4 separate regions of the Homo sapiens genome follow, and all the other regions are linked to region 4. Evidence: promoter capture Hi-C in 16 types of primary human blood cells and fetal thymus (Javierre and others, 2016). All regions are on one chromosome and are shown on one strand. Each heading gives the region's core, a stretch centred on a gene start or on the middle of the fragment in contact. The rest is flanking DNA. Distances are from core to core; before and after follow the strand shown.

What was found. The method cuts DNA at HindIII sites, captures the fragments that hold promoters and counts their contacts. A CHiCAGO score of 5 or more calls a contact.
Region 1: a fragment that was not itself captured here is called in contact with the fragment with the promoter of CCDC91 in region 4 in 2 of 17 cell types (total B cells and fetal thymus); the score reaches 7.0 in total B cells.
Region 2: a contact is called between a fragment that was not itself captured here and the fragment with the promoter of CCDC91 in region 4, in 1 of 17 cell types (naive B cells). The highest score is 7.0, in naive B cells.
Region 3: a contact is called between a fragment that was not itself captured here and the fragment with the promoter of CCDC91 in region 4, in 3 of 17 cell types (naive B cells, fetal thymus and non-activated CD4 T cells). The highest score is 6.5, in naive B cells.

The regions. Positions count from the first base shown.
Region 1 is chr12:22,628,033-22,631,036 of GRCh38, forward strand. The region is part of intron 1 of ETNK1 (ethanolamine kinase 1); the gene reads left to right. Among named protein-coding and RNA genes, the nearest start is that of ETNK1, 4.4 kb to the left of the region's middle. The HindIII fragment of the contact is 1,989 bases long and covers 433-2,421 here.
Region 2 is chr12:21,505,282-21,508,425 of GRCh38, forward strand. GOLT1B (golgi transport 1B) reads left to right here. Exons shown (of 5, transcript NM_016072.5): 2 at 1,604-1,695; 3 at 3,102-3,144. Among named protein-coding and RNA genes, the nearest start is that of GOLT1B, 5.1 kb to the left of the region's middle. The HindIII fragment of the contact is 1,626 bases long and covers 753-2,378 here.
Region 3 is chr12:22,546,210-22,549,165 of GRCh38, forward strand. No RefSeq gene overlaps it. Among named protein-coding and RNA genes, the nearest start is that of C2CD5, 3.1 kb to the left of the region's middle. The HindIII fragment of the contact is 951 bases long and covers 1,172-2,122 here.
Region 4 is chr12:28,188,741-28,192,032 of GRCh38, forward strand. CCDC91 (coiled-coil domain containing 91) reads left to right here and starts at 1,716. Exons shown (of 13, transcript NM_018318.5): 1 at 1,716-1,901. It overlaps LOC729291 (a long non-coding RNA gene), which reads right to left and starts at 1,998. Exons shown (of 1, transcript NR_148936.1): 1 at 1-1,998. RefSeq lists silencers at 1,683-1,732, 1,763-2,192, 2,876-3,170. The HindIII fragment of the contact is 1,439 bases long and covers 1,078-2,516 here.

The DNA of each region.
Region 1 (3,004 bases), core at 177-2,676, 5.6 Mb before region 4:
ATAAAGGAGATGGTGAGGTTTTCGGAGTATAGTAGCAGAATAGGCAGAGTAAATCTAAAACAACAATACAGCCACAGTGCTTTGTATTTAATAATCCTTTACTGTTTATAAAGCACTTTCACATGCATTCTCCCAACTATCCTGTGAGGTAGATGTAGACGGTACTGTTAATATGTATCATATAGTTAATGAAACTGAATTTGCCGTTTACAAATGGCAGATCTGAGATGATAAACCATCTTATGAATTATTGTTCTATGACCAAGAGTTTTGTTTGTATATTATGATTTAGGCAGGGAAGGTGCTTCTGTATAAAATTAATTTCTTAAAAGCTTTGGCTCATAAAAAGATTCTGCTTTAAAGTTCCCTTGAACATAAATTTGCATTACTTTTTTCATATGTGACACCATTTTAGGAAAAAGGGATTACTTAAGCTTTCCTTCACGAGTTACTTTTGTTGTGTAACAACTGTTTAACTTATTTGAAGATTTTGATTTTTAATTTTTATACTTTTCTTTGGAGAGTCATCGTATAAAGGAATAAAGAATCAAGTCAGATCTCAGGTCCATAATAATTCTCAACGGACTCTTAAAATTGTTTTTCATTTTCTGAAGAGCTGATGAATTAGTGTTTGGAATATTCCAGTTATGTTGTCTCAGGGTCTTTCTGTTTGCAGTATTAAGCAACGTTGTTTTTCTCACTAACTTGTCACTATGAATTTTTCCATTACTTGGGACTTATAGTAGATAATGGCAAAGGCTTCATAGGTAGGAATTAATACCGTAATTATTATTTAACATTACAAAACTAATATATTTATTCCTTTGTTGGGTCTAAATGAGATTGCTTGCTATATGGTACCTTATAGCAACTTAGCTTTTCAATAACAGTGTGTTACAGTGCTCAAGAGCATGGGGTTTGAACACAGTGCTAGTTTTGAGTCCAGATTCTATACTTTACTAGCTTTGTTACTCTGGTCAAATCATTAAACTTCCTGTCTCAGTATCCTGAGCTGTAAAATTGATCCAGTAGTTGTCCCTACCTCAATGGGTTATTGTGAGGGTAAAATAAATGCTGTCTTTCATGATAATTATTATTGCTGCTGAGCACCTACTATATATTGGATACTTGAATCAAAAAACAAATATTTGCTCTTTGAAATTCCTAGTCCGATGGGGAAGACAAATAAGAAAATTATAACAACGTAATGTTTATGGAATGAACATTCAAATTTAGTTCACATGCAAAGATTACCCAAGAAGTTTAAAAAATGTACTGTTCTTTCTGCTTTACTACAGGTTTTTGCCTGTTATTGAATGCATATTTTAAAAAATCTTTTCATCATTTTTTTAAGCATATGTATTCTATCATGGAAATTAATCTTTGTGTTAGGTTGTGTAGCTACACAGCAGTTTTCATATCCTTCCTCTTTCTAACAGTGTTGGAGGTAGTTACCTAAATAATCTATTAAAAACCTGTAACTCCTCTTAATATTGATAGTTGATATTTTATATTGGTCTTTGCCTTAAAGGAAGAAGAAAAAGCCAGATCTATACAATTGCTGTGTTAAGTTATGTCTCCACTAGTGTTCTGATATAATAATTGATTTTCTTTTCTGTTTTTAAAAAGATGAGTTTGTTCCTTTAAGCAGTAGCTTCTGAAAAGTCTTAGGTAAGCTAATGTAGTAAGTTACGGCTAATTTTTTAATATATTAAAAAAGTAAACAATATATTAGTTTACTTTCCCTAAGATTATAGGAAATCTTGAGTCCTGTAGATACAAATAAGGAGTCATGGTTTATATTCAGTGTAACTTTTAATGTTAGTGATTACATCCAGTTTTCTGTTTCCTATTCCCTCCCTGTCTTCAGCATTTTAGAATAATAAAGTATATAATGTTTAATAGACGCCCATCAAAAACATGAAATATTTGTTAGGCTCCCATGTATTTTATTAAGATGTGACTATGAAGACAGGAGCCTAAAGTGCTAGTTTGTTTTCCTGTATAATAGCCATGTAACTTGGACTACACAAACTGCGTCACATCTTTTTGGGGACTGAGCATAATGTGGAAAGAGGATGGTTTTTGAATATTATTTCCAGCCATTTATAACCTTTGGCAAGTTTTAAAGTCTCTATAAAATGGTATTACCTTGGAAAGTAGTCATGAGAATTCAATGAAATACCTACAATTACGCATCGCATGTTTTGGTACTACGTTCTTCCACCTCTCATTTCCAATTCTCCCATCCCAACTGAGAGAATTGTGAGCTCCTAAAATTCAGTAATTCTGACATGTGTTTTTTGTACTAGCTGTAATGCTAGTTTTCAGTAAGAGTCCTTGTACAACTAACTGTAGCACAAGGTAGGCATAGAAGAACGTAGGACAGAAGGCTTCATAGAGGTGGGGGTACCTGAGCTAAGCTTTGAAGGGTAGATGAGATCAGATTGAAAAGGGAAACATTTCTGAGCAAGGAAAACTATCTCACAAAGGCAATGAAGCTAGACTTTGAGTAGCTTACTCATCATTTAGGACATCATGGGAAGCCACTGGATATTTTTCTTTTTGTATTTTATTTTATTTTATTTTATTTTTTTTGAGACAGAGTCTCGCTGTAGCCCAGGCTGGAGTGCAGTGGTGTGATCTCAGCTCACTGCAACCTCCGTTTCCCAGGTTCAAGTGATTCTCGTGCCTCAGCCACCCAAGTAGCTTGGATTACAGATGTGCGCCACCATGCTCAGCTAATTTTTGTATTTTTAGTAGAGTCGGGGTTTCACCATGTTGGCCAGGCTGGTCTCGAATGCCTGACCTCAAGTGATCCACCCACCTCGGCCTCCCAAAATACTGGGATTACAGGCATGAGCCACCGCACCTGGCCTGGATATTTTTAAGCAGGTAAATTATATCATGTATTAGAGAAGTGACAGGCAACAATGTAGAGAAGGGTTGTTTGAGGGAAATGTTTTAAATTGGGAAATAATGATCACTCAGGACATTGGTTTTG
Region 2 (3,144 bases), core at 316-2,815, 6.7 Mb before region 4:
TAGAAATTAGTCATCTTCAACTAACAAAGCTGCCGATGTTTAATCCTAACTACTAAATAGTTATTTAATAGAATTTTACTTGCTCTTTTGTCCATATTTTCCTCTATGAAATTATGTCCACTATCCAAATAGTTAATTTGGTAAATTCTCTTAAGGCCTTTGATCATGAAAGTATCAGCCTCAAATTTTCATAGGAATGTGTGTTGAATTCACTTAACTGGTGTATTTATAGACCAGGTACCTGAATTATTTTAGACTAACTTTGGGAACAAAAGGTGTCTGCAATGGAAGACACTAGTTATCAGGAAATTGAGCAGGTGGGGAATGTAGAAAAAGCTAAAGTTGATAAAAGTTTTCAAGTTATCAGAACATTTTATATGACTTAAGAGTTTTTTAAGTAGCTGTGACCTAGATTTTAGCTTTCTGGAGCTGAGGCAAAAAAGTTAAGCAATAGATCAGAAATCAGTGATAGGGTATTTTAAATTGTGCTTCTAAAAATACGGTGGCTTCTACTCTGACTCATCTGTATGCAGATTGTGCTTCTAACTAAACTACGGATTAATGGCTATTTTCTAGAATCAAAACTAAAATGATCAAGGAGGTAACTTAGTGAATTGTGCTTTATAACATTAATAGAAGAGTACATCTGTCACCTTAGAAGTTAAGACTTTTCATACTAAAAAAATAAGACCTAGAGAATGCACAGTCAATAAAAGTATTAATTTTATATACAAGATAAACATAGACTTTAAAGCTTACACCTCGTCTACCACTGTATATTCAGTACCTGGAACAGTTCCTTGCATCTGGCAGTTGATCAACAATTCTTTGTTTTTTAATGAAACTAATGAAACATGAAAAACCTAGAATATTAATATTAGGTAAAACAGTATTCTTTGAAACTTCGGAGAGGTGATTTTAGGACTCTAGACCAAATATTTAAGTAGATTTATAGTTTAGGTAAATTTGTAGATAAGTCCATAATAAGTAATCAAGAAATTAAAAGTGATGCCTGACCTTCTGAAAATTTGGTTTTGAGAATACTGGTACCATGATTTTCGAAATATTTCTTGTTGCCATTGTGACAAGCAGTATATAATTGGATAAAGGATATTGATTGTGCGGACCTACCATAACATTTCTAATGCAGTAAAGAAGGAATCAATTTTAAGAGGAAGAAAGAACTACAGATATTGTGCATTTAAATAATAATTATAGAATGTGAAAGGAGATAAGTAATTAAGGAAACCTATACATTTATGTCTGATGCGAGAGAGCTTTTCAGGAGGAAAAAAACAAATTACATATTAAAACCAAAGGTTTAGAATCCCGATTTATCTTTTTTATTATAGCTATGTCTGAGAAATGCTATCTCCCATATAAGGCTTAGAAATTTTCATTCATGTTTTAAATTTTGAAATAATTTGCTGATAATTAATTTGTTATAAGAGCTAAATAAATGTCATTATGAAGTTAACCTGCAATGTTGGGTACCTGTTTTCTTATACCTATGAAAGGAAAACTGGAAAATTTTCTTAGTTTACAGGGATGTTAATGTGACTTTAATTTTTCTCTACCCTTAACCATATACCTTATATTGCAGAAATTGGAATGGGATTAACAGGATTTGGAGTGTTTTTCCTGTTCTTTGGAATGATTCTCTTTTTTGACAAAGCACTACTGGCTATTGGAAATGTGAGTTTTTAAATATATATTTTAACTAAATTTATAAGGAAATTTTAACTACGAATGAATTATTATCTGCTATTAAATTTGGGGAAAATAATTCACTATTACTCATAAGTAATTCCTGTTACATTCTCTATTTCCATCAGGAATGAAACCTGTCAGCTTTCTGTTTAAATAAAAGGTAAACACTTAATGAGGTTTTCTAATTCCATAACTACTCTGTTAAGTGTTTGTCATGAGATTTACAATAGATTAAATGAAGGCTGCCTCTAAATAGGAGTTCAAAATAGATGACTTGATAGTTTCATGTCTTGATAAATCACTAAAGTATTTTTACTTTAAACATCCAAGACTTCACATTTGATTCAGCTGCATAAGATAGATTTTTTTAACCTTTTTAAAAATATATATTTCTATGTTAATGGTTGACTTGCTTAGAAAGGGATCTATGTTGTTTATTTGGAATGTGTACTATGCTATTCATGTGTGGAGGTTATGATCCAGAAATAAATAATAACCCTTCTAAGGTAGTGAAGACACTGTATGTGTGTGTGTGTGTATATATATATATACACACACACATATATATTTGGGCTTTTAACTGGAAATGGGAAAAGATAAAGAATAGCAAAATTGTTCAAAATTGATGTCTTAATAAATGATAATAGCATTAGTATCCTAGAATATGAAGCTTAACCATTAGGCTTAATATGTATTTGTGCGAAATATTTTTCACTAAAGAATGTTAATGGGGAGGGCAAGTATTTGGAAAGAAAACCTGGGGAAAGCAAGCTCTTAATCCATCACCATTTCTTGTCCACAGAATACATTCAAAATATTTGAAAACACATGGTTGTATTTTTATTTCTGCTGCCACCAGATATTCTAGAATTTATAAAACTAGAATCTTCTTGGCTTCACGTTGTTTCTTCTGCTATCAACTTAGCCATGTCAATATTTCTCCCATCCATAGAAACTCCTGTAGCCTATGATGAATATTTCAGAACCAAGAGGAATACCCTTGGGTGACATATTTATGGGCAGCTTTCCTCTTTATGCCTTGCCAACTCATCTGCTTGACTAAGCCTTCCTCATCCAGCTAAAACTAGGAAAACTACTGCAGACACAGATGCCCCTTGGTAACGTCTAATCTTTCTTTGTTTCTCTTTTTCTCCATTTAATCAAGATAGAAGAGGAATGAGACAAGTGGAACAAAGCTACAACTTTAAAATGCATAACCCACTCCTTGGTTCTGCTGCTTGGTTGTACATTACAGTTCTGTCTGGCCAGTTGCCCACATTAAAAGCCAAACAAATGTGCTTCTTTTTTTATATTTAGCTTTGACTTTACGTTTAAAATTTATGCATTGTGTTTAATTACCTTTTCCGTGTTGTATTTTCTTTCTCTTTTAGGTTTTATTTGTAGCCGGCTTGGCTTTTGTAATTGGTTTAGAAA
Region 3 (2,956 bases), core at 397-2,896, 5.6 Mb before region 4:
GAAAACGACTTCCTCAAAATAAAAATCTAAAAAAATCGCTTGCTTTTTGGACTAGAGAAACTTTTATCAATTCAAACTATGTCAAAGGAATAGGGGTCATAGATCCCATGCGAATTTCCTTAGGTCCACCTGCAGCTTTTTCTGGAGTCTGACTCTGCCCTTAAAATACCCTTGCCAGAATTCTGAAGGTTGGCTACACTATGTGATCAACGTTTTTTATTTATTTATTTATTTAGAGACAGGGACTCACTCTGTGTCCCACACTGGAGTGCAGTGACATGATCATAGCTCACTACAGCCTCAATCTTCTGGGCCAAGCGATCCTCCCACCTCAGCCCCCCAAGTTCCTGGGACTACAAGCACATACCACCATGCACCGCTAGTTTTTTAAATTTTTTGAAGAGATGGAGTCTCCCTGTATTGCCCAGGCTGGTCTCAATCCTGGTTTAAGCCATCCTCCTGCCTTGACCTCACAAAGTGGTGGGATTACAGGCATGAGCCATCTTGCCCGGCATGATCAGTGTTTTTTGTTGTTTTGGGTGGTAGAGTTGAAGTCGTTTTTGTGGTGAAATCGAAGTATTACCGTATTACCAACTCATTTTTTAAAATATGAAATGTATAAAGAAAAAATATTAGAAAATTGAAGTTTAGCACCAATATTAATGGAAAATAATGCATTGTGTTCCAAAATGTAAAAAGTTGCAAATTGCACAATTAGAGGTTAGCAATCTCAGCCTCCTAATTAGTAGACTTTGAGGTACTTGTACGTACTTGTTGCCTTAGGCTTCATCAACAAGAGATTATAATTAAGATGCTTCCTGAAAACTATTTTTAGTAGATTTAAGCCTGACTTCAGTTGAACTGTTTCCTAATAATTGTTCTCGTTTGTTTTCATTAATGCTGGGAACAGTGCTAACTTTCTGACAAATCTACCATGATGTGACTCCTGATTACCTTGTTTAGCTTCATACCCTGACACTCTTTTTGCATTTTAAATTATCAATAACAAGAATTAACGTGTATTGATGGTTTGCCGCACACCAGCTACTGAATTCAGCGTTTCACAGCTGTTAAGGCTCCCTAAAATCCTGAGGTAGGAATTATCAGCCTTCATTTTATAAATGAGAAAATTATGGCTTTTCAAAGCTCTGGTGATTACCCAAGGTCACAAAGCTTCTAATGATAGAGGCAGGTTTTAAATCTAGACAATGTGATTCCAAGAACTCACGTCTTTGAAGATTACATGTAGTTTTCTAATAAACTATACTTTTCCTTCTTCCTGGAGTATCTCTCTCATAGTCATCCTACCAAATAGCTATGAATTCATAACTCAGTTCAAAAGTCAATACTCTGGTTTCTCTTTAGAGTGTATAAATCTTTTGCCTTTTACAAAAGTCACTTCTACATCTTCTCTAATCTCCTTCCTAATAAATATGCTCTTCACTCCCACCTATGCTACTACTAAATCTAATACATTTGTTATTATACTTTCCATGCAATAATTATTTATCCATCTCTCTCCCCCCCAACCCCCACTAAACCATGAGCACTCTGAGGGAATGGATTGCTTCTCACTCATCTCTCAATTCTCAGTTCTTTGTCCTGTGCCCTTCATGTGATCAACAAATTATTGTGGAATTAAATTAACAGTTAACACTTGCTATTACTACTTAGATTGCTCTTCTTTCCTGGCTTCCTAAAATGTTCCTGTTAATCTTTCCCATTCTTTCAGGTTAAATTACTCAAGGGTTGTCAGTACTTGGTGCCCTCTCCTCACTTCCTAAGCGCTCCAAAAACTATTAATATCTGGGTTTAGCCACCACCACTCTACAAAAACAGCTTTCACTAATGCCATCAATAACCTCTGGTTGCTAAATGCAATGAACACTTTTTTTAGTTTTAAGTTTTTATTTTTGAGATGGGGTCTTGCTGTGTTGCCCAGACTGGTCTCAAACCCTTGGGTTCATGCAGTCCTTCTGCCTCAGGCTCCCAAGTTGCTGAGACTACAGGCACGTGCCACCATGCCTGGCTTCAGTTTTTTATTTACGTGACTCTCAGTAGCATTTGATGCTGTTGACCACGCTGTCCTTAAAATAATCTTCCTCTTGGTATTCAGAAACCAAGCTTCTCTTACCTATTCTGGTTTATACATCTGTCTTCTCAGCCTACTCATTGTCCTTAACTATTAAATATGTGTTTTTCTCAGGTTCAGTTTTTGTCTCTATTCTCTTCCAACTGTACTGTCTCCCTAGGTGATCTCATCCAAGCTCACAATTTTAATTTCCATCTGTTTAGTCAGGGACTCTCAAATCGTTATCTTTAGTCTGTAACTCGCTTCTGGGATCTTGACCCATATATGCAACTGCCAAGTTACTATTTCCATTTGGAGTATCAAAGTGACCTCAAAAGTCAAGATGTCCAAAAGTGACCTCAAAAGTCAAGATGTCCAAAACTGACCTGATTTTCTTTACCTTTCCCATAACTACAACAACGAGAATGACAACAACAACAACAAAAGACCTGGTAGTCTTCTACTAAACAGCAATGCCAACTACATAGTCAATTGCTCAAGCCAGAAACTCACTGATTTAAGTTTGAAAGTGGGCTGGGATTACAAGTATAATTATACAAATGACAACTTGGGCTCAGTTCAGTTACTTTTGCTTTGATTTTTTTTTTTCCTTTGGGCCAGGGTCCCACTCTGTTACCCAGGCTACAGTGCGGTGGCAAGATCACAGTTCACCACAGCCTCAACCTCCCAGGCTCAGGTGATCCTCCAACCTTAGCCTCCTGAATAGCTGGGACTGCAGGCGCACACCACCACATCTGGCTAATTTTTATATTTTAGTAGAGATGAGGTCTCCCCATGTTGCCCAGGCTGATCTCGAACTCTTGGGCTCAAGTGATCTGCCTGCCTCATCCTCCCAAAGTGCTAGGATTGCAGGTGTGAGCCACC
Region 4 (3,292 bases), core at 466-2,965:
AAATATATTAATATACCTACTTTGTAAAATTATTGTGGTAAGTTATATATGGGATTTAAAATATTTAATCTAATGCCAGGCACATAGCAAATATTAATAATAAATATTAGTTACTTATTATAAATCTGTTTAGTATGGAATACAGTTTAGTATTGAATATCGGGACAGAGTGAACATGTAAGTACATCAATGGGAAGGAACTCCCAGAAACTAATCTGGTTTCCAGCAGAAAGAGATATGAGAGACAAAATAATATAAAGGTAACCTTACTAAGTTTAAGAAATATTTATGAATACCTTTTTTCTAACTACTAGACACTTTGCTAGACTGCTGGATACACAAAGACAAATGAGAAGTGAGTAGATTGCTGGATATACAAGTGAGAAGTGGTCCTTGACTTGGTAGTCTAGTAGACAGATAAAAAAATATGTGTAAGAAAGCATTACATTTCTTACAATAGAAATGTTTTTTGTATGCATAAAGAAGGGGGTGGGCTGGAAAAAGAATGTAGTCAAGGTGACTTGCTCAATACTGAAACTGCTCATTAACTACTTAGGCCAGCACTTATGGCAGACTTGTCAGGATGCCTTGCTAATATTTTCCACTTCCAGTACAGAACAGAGATTACAGGTTTAAGCCAATTTTGTTCAACAGATGAGAAACCCAGTGTCCAAGGATGAAAGAATACTTGTTATACAAGGAATGTGAATATTCCAGAGATTTATGCTCAAAGTCCCCAGGTTAGTGTCTTTCTTTCTCACTAGACTGTAAGCTTCTTGAAGACAAATATCTTGAGTGTTACCTTGCTCACTCTTGAATTGTCAAAACTTGGCCCAGGACTAGGTATGTGGTATACAATCAATAAAAATTTGTTGAATGAATGTTCTTCAAAATCCTTCCATGGCAAAAACAGAAGAAACATTCACGAGTGGACTGCTAGTTGACTGTTTCTCTCATCGCTATTGACAGTCTGAAATGGACAAAGACATCTATATAATCATTCCTTCCTTTCAAATAAATAATCTGTGAATTACGCTATTCTTTTCCTATTGCTTCAGGACAAGCTATTTGACAGAAAGCTTTTAAGAAAGGCTTTGCAAGAAAACTCTGCAACAGAGATGGCACGTATGAATTGCTGTGATCTGGAGTTGAAGACAAGAACAAAAGTAACTCTAGAGCAGAATTCTTTGACCAAAGTCATCTTACTGGTTGGCGGAGGCTCTCAGTCTACTTGCATCCGGTGCTTGAGAGTTCAGACAGGCAAAGATGAGAGGTAGCATCTAGTCAACATCCATTTCTTGAGCACTTACTACATGTCAGCCACTTTGCTTAGTCCCCGGTTTTACTGTGCTCTGCTAGGAAGTGGTGAAGAGATTCGGCGGGATCTTCTTAGGACCAATCCTACAAAGTTCCAGATGGAACTCATTTTGATTTGGGGGACGGTTTACTTGCAGGGATTAGGTGGAGAAACAGGGCCTGCTACTCAAGAGGAATGAGAAACTGTAACTAACAGGAGGTAGACTGGGAAGGAGCATGGCAAAGTCACCCCTTTTCACAGGGCAACGCTCCAAAGACCACGCTCAAGCTGGGGTGGCAGGGCTCTGAACATGGGGCCCCGACCCGGGCCTCGGCCTGGGGCCACGTGACGCGCGTGTTTACGTTGAGTGACGGGCGCTGTGTTGGGCGGGCCTTGGCGGAAATCAACTTCCGGGGGCAGAGGTGTTCGAAGCCGGGTGGTGCGTGGGCTACCCCAACCTGTGTGGCTGGGCCGCGGTCTCCCCTCAAGGGCCTGGGGCCGTGCCTCGGGTGTACGCGTAGGGGTCTGTGTGCTGGGGGTGGCTCACCGGGCAGCGTGGGTGAGCGGCGCAGCGGCGGCAGCGGAGAGCGAGAGAGGGGAGCAGGTAAGTGAACGCTCGCCTTCCGGGGCCTGGGTCTTGGGGTCGGGGCCGCGCGAGGCGAGCGGAGAGCGCCCCACCGGGGGAGGAGCGCGGACGAGCTTCCGCCGCCTGCAGCCCGCCTGCTGCGGCCTCGCCCTTGGCTGTCGCAGCGACCAGGAGTCAGGGGGCGTGACCAACCTCCTGCGGGAACGGAGCCAGCTCCCGGGGGTGGGAGTGCCCACTCGTTCCTGCGCTCGCCGGTGGGTACCGGTATCTGCACGTCCCAGAATCGAGTGTTTTCGAAAGTCTACGCCCACGAACACGTGATTATTGTGTCACCGAAGCGCCTACCGAACGGAGACCTTGATTCTTGCTTAGATTACACAGAACGCGCCTGGTTTATGTATCCCCTTTTACTTTGCCAAGTACATTGGGGTAAAAGCTCTACAGCGTCTGCCAGCCACATTTCCTTAGAGTTTCTTGGGCCACATGTTGCAATAAAAGTGGCATTTCAGGGTCAAGGCAGGAGCCAGTAACTTTGCCAAGTGGTGAGGTATCCTTCGTCCCCGTTAGCACGCCTCCCTTTCCCAACAATAAAGATATTTTCTCCATCTGCGCGTGTCGCCTACTGCGGAGGAAAGCTTTGGACATGAAACCTATTTTTGGCTTCACTTTAAGGAGTGGAACTCTATTAAAAGCTGCGCTGGTGTTTTTTTGGTAGGATGATGTTGCTGCTGCTACTCTCACTTGCTTCCTTGATGAGAGTTGGGGCAGAGCTCGATTTCCTGGAGGGTAAAGTCTTGGCCACAATTTTAGGTGACTCAGCGGCCCCTTATGAATTCTGACTCTTTCCTTCCCTCCCCTCTCAGCTGTGCGGATACTGATGCCACCTTTCTCTCCAAATATTAATCCGGGTGGGAGTTGGATGATGGTTTTTGGAAGCAGTTTGCATGTTGCGTGGTGGAGTTATTGGAGTGGGCTGACATTTTACTTCACAATTTAAGGCAACCCTTCCCCCCCCCACAATATTTAGTTGGGTGGGGTGACAGGGACTGACAACAAATTCGCTGTTGTGTTCCCTGCTGTCGGAGAGTTCTACACTTAATGATCACCTGATTGCCCTCTGCTACAATTTCTATTGCGTTGAGGGGATTGGTTATACTGTCTGTACCTATTAGGTAAATGTAGTAAGGGTCATGCCAGGCAGAGTGCACCTGCATGGTGTTGGCTAACCAGTAAACTGTGTGGTAGAGAATTGCCCTGGTTACGAAGTTTGGTATCCTCCAGGCTGCCTAGGAGGGTGTTCTGTGGGCTGGGAAATCTTATGAACTGGTTTCCTAGCAACAGTATAAGCCCAATGGAATAAACATAAAGAAAACAAAGTGATGAAAGTTACAACTTACCTCTTAACTTTT